Linked DNA regions of Homo sapiens: region 2 is linked to region 1. The links are contacts of gene promoters, found by promoter capture Hi-C in blood cells and fetal thymus (Javierre and others, 2016). All regions are on one chromosome and are shown on one strand. Each heading gives the region's core, a stretch centred on a gene start or on the middle of the fragment in contact. The rest is flanking DNA. Distances are from core to core; before and after follow the strand shown.

Evidence for each region. The method cuts DNA at HindIII sites, captures the fragments that hold promoters and counts their contacts. A CHiCAGO score of 5 or more calls a contact.
Region 2: the fragment with the promoter of CXCL2 here is called in contact with the fragment with the promoter of CXCL3 in region 1 in 1 of 17 cell types (megakaryocytes); the score reaches 7.2 in megakaryocytes.

The regions. Positions count from the first base shown.
Region 1 is chr4:74,036,260-74,040,145 of GRCh38, forward strand. It overlaps CXCL3 (C-X-C motif chemokine ligand 3), which reads right to left and starts at 2,430. Exons shown (of 4, transcript NM_002090.3): 1 at 2,253-2,430; 2 at 2,031-2,154; 3 at 1,834-1,917; 4 at 330-1,018. The coding sequence starts at 2,352. The coding sequence ends at 1,003. LOC105377275 (a long non-coding RNA gene) reads left to right here and starts at 2,686. Exons shown (of 2, transcript XR_938875.3): 1 at 2,686-3,886. The HindIII fragment of the contact is 4,426 bases long and covers 1,890-3,886 here.
Region 2 is chr4:74,097,785-74,101,672 of GRCh38, forward strand. CXCL2 (C-X-C motif chemokine ligand 2) reads right to left here and starts at 1,411. Exons shown (of 4, transcript NM_002089.4): 1 at 1,237-1,411; 2 at 1,015-1,138; 3 at 817-900. The coding sequence starts at 1,336. The HindIII fragment of the contact is 3,135 bases long and covers 873-3,888 here.

The DNA of each region.
Region 1 (3,886 bases), core at 1,180-3,679:
CCAAAAGCATCTAGCAGATCTAGCAGACGCCCATGTTAAAATATCAATAACATTCAAAAATTTGTAAAGAACTAGTTTTGAATAACAAATTGGTCAATGTGAAAAACAGCTAAATGTTATACAAAATTAGAATTATCAAAGTGGTTGGGGGGTAGTATGTACTTTCTAAAAGCATCGGATAGTCCGTTTTGAATAAGAGAAATATAAGGGAAGTGACAGCTAGAAGCAGGCACAGATTTAGATAGAACCTGCAGCCTAACTGTATAACACCTTGGGTGCCTGGGAAGAACTAAAAGTCAAGAAGAATTTTTTGAAAAACCACATAAGCCTTTTTTTTCATAAAACTTTTATTATCATGTCATTTGTACAAATGTAACAGTAATGATAAATTCTCTTTTCCAAGGGAAAGAGAAACGCTGCAGAATGGACATTAAACAAGGCATTATGCCCTACAAGCAAGACATAAAATGTCTAAGGGAAACTTCAGCATAAAAATGTTGAACACATAATGTGAGATAATTTGAATAAATAACAACTGACATTCTTTTTTTAAAAAAAAAGTATAAAAAATAGATGTGTACATACATTCCCTTACCCTAACAGTGATCCACTAATTGCTTGCATTTCAATCCCCCCACCCTCCAGTTCCCCACCCTGTCATTTATCAAGGTGGCTGACACATTATGGTCTCCCACTAAATATTAGTTTAATGACACATTTAAAACCCATCATATTCCAATTAAATAATCAGGACTGAGCTATGTTTGATGAAACACACTCACATCTTTAAATAACAGCATGTAAAATATTAAAATACAAGCTTTCAAAAATAAATACATAAATAAGTAGAACCCTCGTAAGAAATAGTCAAACACATTAAGTCCTTTCCAGCTGTCCCTAGAAAGCTGCTGTTCTCTTTTTCATTTTCAGCTCTGGTAAGGGCAGGGACCACCCTGCAGGAAGTGTCAATGATACGCTGATAAGCTTCTTACTTCTCTCCTGTCAGTTGGTGCTCCCCCTGTGATGAGAAAAGGGTTACTGTTGCAGGTGCTAAGGAAGGCTGCTCTTCTGTCACTCTGAAGTTGCTTGGAGGGATGTCCCCATGCAGACTCTCTCCCAGCCCTCCACTCAGGGAAGGTCTGTCTGTACCCACTGCCTTCTATAGCAGAAAACTTGCACTCCTGAATGCTTTTTTTTTTTTTTTCAAGAAAGAAGTGGCTGTGGACTCAACTAGATTCTTGGTTTGAAAAAGCCAAAACATATTGGTCACTGATTGTCACATTGGGTTAGAAATGTCCATTCATGATCTCCCTTAAGCTGCACACAACCCTATGAAATAACTACCATTATCTACCCTATTTTGCTAAAGCTCAAAGAGATTAAATAACGTTGACAGGGATCCTAGCCTTGAACTCACTGAAGGTGTTACTGCAAAGTTTCTGCTCTTCACCAAGAAGGCTTACAGGCCCAAAGTGCCCAAACCAGACATTGCATTTTTCAGGTCTGAAGCCCATTAGGGACTGAGGTAAACGTCCCAAAACAGGCAGGGGGCATTTTGGCATTGTTAGTCAAATTTACTTAGTATTCTAGAAACCCACATTTACCCTCCCAGGGGTTAGGCCTGGAAATGGAAGACACTGAAATACTGAAATATCCTCTGGCACCAGAGCAGATTAATAACCTTAATGGCAACTTTAATTGTGAAAATAATAATCACAATTTCTAGTCCTTCAGCTAACTCTTGGGGTTCCCTGATTTTATTTTTAGGGGGCAGATGCCAGTATTTCTGACCAACGGCTCCAGTCGCCTGTGTATATGGAAATTACAACTCACTTGTTCAGTATCTTTTCGATGATTTTCTGAACCATGGGGGATGCGGGGTTGAGACAAGCTTTCTTCCCATTCTTGAGTGTGGCTCTGCAGAGAGAAGGGAATTCCGTGAGACAGGAGGTCGGGCTGGGGACAGGGTTGGGGCAGCGGGAGAGTCGGGGACCCCAGCGGTGGCAGCGGAAGCGCGGGGCGGGACTTACATGACTTCGGTTTGGGCGCAGTGGGGTCCGGGGGACCTTACATTCACACTTTGGATGTTCTTGAGGTGAATTCCCTGCAGTGTCTGCAAGCACTGGCAGCGCAGTTCAGTGACCACGGACGCTCCTAGGGAAGAATAGACTCGCTGATTGAGCGGGGCTGTCGGCGCGGGGCGCCCACCCCAGCCGCGTCCGGCCCGGGGACCCCAGGGCGCCGGGACCCACCTGCTGCGCGCCGGCTGGCGGCCACCAGGAGCAGGAGCAGCAGCGCCACCCGCAGGAGCCGGGGATTGCTGGGGGCGGCGGAGAGCGTGGCGTGGGCCATGGGGCTCAGCAGACGCGTCGGGAAGCTGTGCGAGAAGCGGGAGAGCTGGCGGGGAGGTGCCTGCGACCCGGGCTGTGTGGCTCCCCAAGATCGGCGAACCCTTTTTATGCATGGTTGAGACTGGAAAGCCCGGAGCGGCCGGGCCAGGGAAATTCCCGGAGCTCCAGATCGATCCGGAGTCCCGAAGGAAGGCGACGGCCCCGCCCCCGGGGTGGAGTCGGATACGGGTAGGGGGAGCCCACTGGTGACGCCTACGCCTCGCCCTCCAGAGTAACCCCCGTGCACTCTGGGACTTTGGGATATTCATTTTCTGCCCCAAATTCCTGGAGAGGCAGTGAGTCCACCTCGCTGAAGATACAGCCTGTGAGGGGGGACCTTAGGTCCCCGATGACCCCCCGCGTACGGGGTAGGGTTGGAGGAAAGAGCTGGGGGGACCCGTGAGAACCAGGACAGGAAAGGCACGACTTCTTTAGAGGAAGAGAGCTTTGTCTCCTTAGTTATCAGATTTGCTGGGGACCCGGAGACAGGCGAGTTTTCCCTCAGCTATCCTCTCTCTATATAGTCTATCCTCTATGTTAACCTCCCGGTCTCTGCCTCTCTCATTTTCGGTTTAGCGTTATTTCATGTACATCTAACATCATGCTCTCTGTGAAAGTACAGCCATCGTCTCGGATTCCAGAGAAGAATGTTCTACTTGTTCCTTGTTTTGCATATTCTCTAATCACACTTAGAATACCTTGTTTACGTTTTCCATTTGGTGGCAACAGATTATCAGTGTCAAAATTTGAATTCAGTGTTAGTGTCCGTGGAAGCCAGGGCTGTATAACATGACCTCTTCTTTTGTATCCTGCATAACGTCCTTCCTCCCTCTGAAATGTTGGAACTTCCTAAATCCCCTGGAGACCTTCTCCCAGTGGGAGGGATTCAGATTTGATCTAGAAATATGACACTGGCTGTCACTCTGAAGCTGTGGAGGGGCTGGGTCCAGCAGGATCATGGGCTCAATGTTTCTGGTTCTGTCTTTGCGAATGACACTAGAGAGTAGGTACCTGGTGTGCAAACACCATTCCCACTGAAGGAGCAAACAGCTGCCTGCTGATGACATTTAAACACCAGATCACACATAAAATCACATTTCATTTACTATAGAATTTTCTGGTATTCAGCACTGGGGGATCTTTCTCTGGAAACATTAACAGGGCACTTTTTTTTCTCGTCTGGATTTTCAGTCTTTTAACCTGACACCTTTGTCCCTTTTTCTAGTTTTAGATAATGTATTTTGATTTGTCATTAGGTTTTAGAGGGTTTAAGTGTGATTCTACAAGTTGGTCTCAGACCTCTTTGAGACGTGGAGTAGGATGGAGGAGAGGAGAAAGGAATGGCATCTGCCTGAAGCACAGGGCTCTACACAACCCAGCTCAAGGGATAAGAGTCCTTGCCCCTAACCAAACACAGAGCGTGCAACTGTGCTGCCTGTATTTAGTTGCAGAGTATCACTTGCAAGTTGTTAAGCCTCTCTGTGCCTAGCCCAAGG
Region 2 (3,888 bases), core at 161-2,660, 61 kb after region 1:
ATGGGTGCCCTGAGTAGGTGCTCAGGAAAGCTGACTGCACAACAGTCTTCTCCTGTCCTGTTTCCCCAGGCTCTAGAGTTTTCTGAATGCAGTTTCCCCAGCCTGGCACCCAAGTGGGTACTGCCTGTGACAGCTGTGCTGTGTGGCAAGGACCTCTAGGCTTGGGATGCTCTTTTAGGAATGGGGGTGACGTGGGGTGGAGGAGTGGCAGTCTACACTGTTTTACTGGCTAAAACAGCCAGAGCCTATTGCTCTTTGTCATACTGGGCCTCACTTGAGCCTCAAAGCAACCTCATGATGTAGCTACCATTATTTTCCCTGTTTTGCTGAGTCTCAGATAAACTAAATAATATTGTCTCTGAGTGACATGGCTAATAGGTGGTGGCAACCAGTTATATACCCAGTGCAATATTATTGTGAAATCTCTGCACTTCAACCCTAAACTTTTACAAAAAACCAGGGGGTCTGCTTTTCAGGTCTGAAAGTCAGTAGGAACTAGGGGAAATGAAGCTTGTGTTTTTTAACAGGTGGAAAACACTTCAGCACAACTGGCAAACTCCAATGAGACCTTACATGAAAGCAGTTTTACCTACATTCACTGGCAGGAGGGAAGAACCTGGGTGGTGACCCTGGGCACTGGGAATATCCTCTGGCACCAGAACAGATTAATAACCTTAATGGCAACTTTGTGAAAATAATAATTTTTTCAGTCCTGCAGCTAACCCTGGGTTTTCCTGATTTACTTTTTAGGGGGCAGACGCCAGTATTTCTGACCAACAGCTCCAGTCGCCTGTGTACATGGAAATTATAACTTACTTTTTCAGCATCTTTTCGATGATTTTCTTAACCATGGGCGATGCGGGGTTGAGACAAGCTTTCTGCCCATTCTTGAGTGTGGCTCTGCAGAGAGAAGGGAATCTCGTGAGACAGGAGGTCGGGCTGAGGACAGGGTTTGGGGCAGCGGGAGAGTCGGGGACCCCAGCAGTGGCAGCGGCAGCGATGGGCGAGACTTACATGACTTCGGTTTGGGCGCAGTGGGGTCCGGGGGACTTCACCTTCACACTTTGGATGTTCTTGAGGTGAATTCCCTGCAGGGTCTGCAAGCACTGGCAGCGCAGTTCAGTGGCCAGGGGCGCTCCTAGGGAAGAAGAGACTCGCTGATTGAGCGGGGCTGTCGGCGCGGGGCGCCCACCCCAGCCGCGTCCGGCCCGGGGACCCCAGGGCGCCGGGACCCACCTGCTGCGCGCCGGCTGGCGGCCACCAGGAGCAGGAGCAGCAGCGCCACCCGCAGGAGCCGGGGATTGCTGGGGGCGGCGGAGAGCGTGGCGCGGGCCATGGGGCTCAGCAGGCGGTTCGAGCGGCTGTGCGAGGAGGAGAGCTGGCAAGGAGCTGCCTGTGGCCCGGGCTCTGTGGCTCTCCGAGAACGGCGAACCCCTTTTATGCATGGTTGGGGCTGGAAAGCCCGGAGTCCCGGGCCAGGGAAATTCCCGGAGCTCCAGATCGATCCCGAGTTCGGAAGGAAGGCGATGGCCCCGCCTCTGGGGTGGAGGGGGGTCGGGGCACTCACGAGTGACGTCCGGGTCTGACTGTCTTGCGTAACTCCCGCCAACTGTGGGATGTTCTCTTTCTGCCCCGAATCCCTGGAGCGGGAGCGAGAGCCCGCCGCTCTCAGAGATACCGAGATAACCGCCTGCGAGGAGGCGCTTCGTGAACCCAGTGCAGTGCGTCGTGGGTCAGATCCCTTAGACCCACGTAGGGACCGCGCTACATCCTTACCGGGGGGAGTTACTTCTCTGGAAGACATTTCAGTTGTTGGGATTGAAAGTTAGGGCAAGAACTGCAGCATGTCTTATCTATCCTCTCTCTTTAGTTTGGGTTCTGCAAATTTCATTAATGTTTGAAATAAACGCACGCTTTAACAGTACATGTGTCATCTCAGATGACGCATAAGAGCTTTTGTCTCCTTCCTGGTGTTTTATGATCTTAAAAGCAAATATCACGTGTGTGTGTGTGTGTGTGTGTGTGTGTGTGTGTGTGTGTGTGTGTTTCAACGTAGTGGAGCCAGGTGTTGGGTGCGGGAACAGACCATTGCCAAGGGTCAATTCAGTGTTTATTTTAGTTAACAGTGTTGCAATCCCCCATCCTTTCTCTCTTTGAAATCTTGGAACATCTCGAACTCTAGTAATTCCAGTAGCATCAATTTTTTGTTGTATGGAAGTCTGTGTTTTGATCCATGGAAGTCACTGGGAGCTGCGAGGGGCCTGTTGGGCTCAGGAGGTCTGCCTTTTCTAGTGCTGTCCCTGGGCAGAAAAGGCCATAGACACCACCAGAAAAGGAGCAGGGAATGAGACTCCGCTTGTTTACTACTCTAAGCACAAGCAGACATGTCTGATATATACATACTAGATTGCTAACATAATTGCATTTCCATGCCATATGTATTTACCAGCATCCTGGGATTGGTTCCCTCTAGAGAAACAGCTATCGAGGAAATTTTAGTTCTAGAGGAATGTCAATAAAGCATTTCCAAGCCTGTTTAGCTGATGCCTTCTCACTGGATTACTGACTTTTCATCATCAATTTCAATGACCCCCTCTCTTTAAAAATTAAGCTGTAGGCCTACAATACTCTGTCTTAATTCTTCCTGGTGGATGCAGACTTCAGGGATATGGAGATATTCTGCCACTGCTATGAGAAGGGCTGGGAGTGGCACGAGGATGAAGAAGTGGGACTACCTTAGGAATAGAGTGTTCCCTGGATGCTGCAGCTGTAGAGATCACTTGATAAGGATGTCAGGGCTGAAGTTTCAGCCATACCACTAACTTGCTTCATGACCCTTGGTAATTTATGCTTTATTTGCTCATGTTTCTCCCCTGTAGAAGAGCTTATAATAGTGCCTGCCTCACGGGGTTGTTAGAAGTATTGATTGTTAATATGTGTAAACCATCAGTGCATGTAAAGTGTTATGTAAATATTTGTTAAATAACAAAATAGAAGTGGTGTTTCACAACCTTACTGATATAGGCTGGATGTTTGTGTCTCTTTCAAATTCAGATGATGAAGCCCTGACTCCCTTATGTGCTAATATTAGAAGACAGGACCATGGGAAGTAATTAGGTTTAGGTGAGGTTATGAAGGTATGGCCCCCATGATGGGATAAGTGCCATTACAGCAAGAGATCAGTGAGCTTTCGATCTCTGGCTCTCTCTCCCTTTCTGCATTGTGAGGACACAGCAAGAAGGCCACCATCTGCAAACTGAGAAGAGGGCCCTCACCAAGCATGAAATCTGCCAGGATCTTAATCTTGGACTCCCCAGCCTCCAGAACTGTGAAATAATTGTTGTTTAAGCCCCCTAGCCTATGGCATTCTGTTATAGCAGCTCAAACTGACTAAGACACTTAACTAAACAGAAGCACTCTGATAAAGCCTTATGAACACACACACGCACAAAGAAAGAAATATTTTCAAAGAAACATCTTCTAATTTACCTTTAAAATTTTTCAGCATCAGAAATTTTAAAGGAGGGTGCATTTCTATCCTTATGGGATCTTACAATAATTTTTTGATCCATTGTTTGTTTGAAATTTTAGTTTCAATCACTTTCCACATAAAATGAGAATAAGAGTAAAATTCTACCCTATCCATTTATTAGAAAAGATTTATGAAATGACTCTGCCTTGGGCATTAACAGCTAGCTGCCCAAACTTCTTTATTTTGTGCTAAAGAACTAAAGAACAATAGAAAACATCAGCTTATAATGATTGCCAGACTCATCCCAAAGTATTGATGTGAGTAAATAGAAAGAGTAAAATTTCTATTATCTACAGTAACAGTCCCTCAAAAAGATGAGAAATTTCAAGAATCAGCCCATCATTTGTAAAATTATG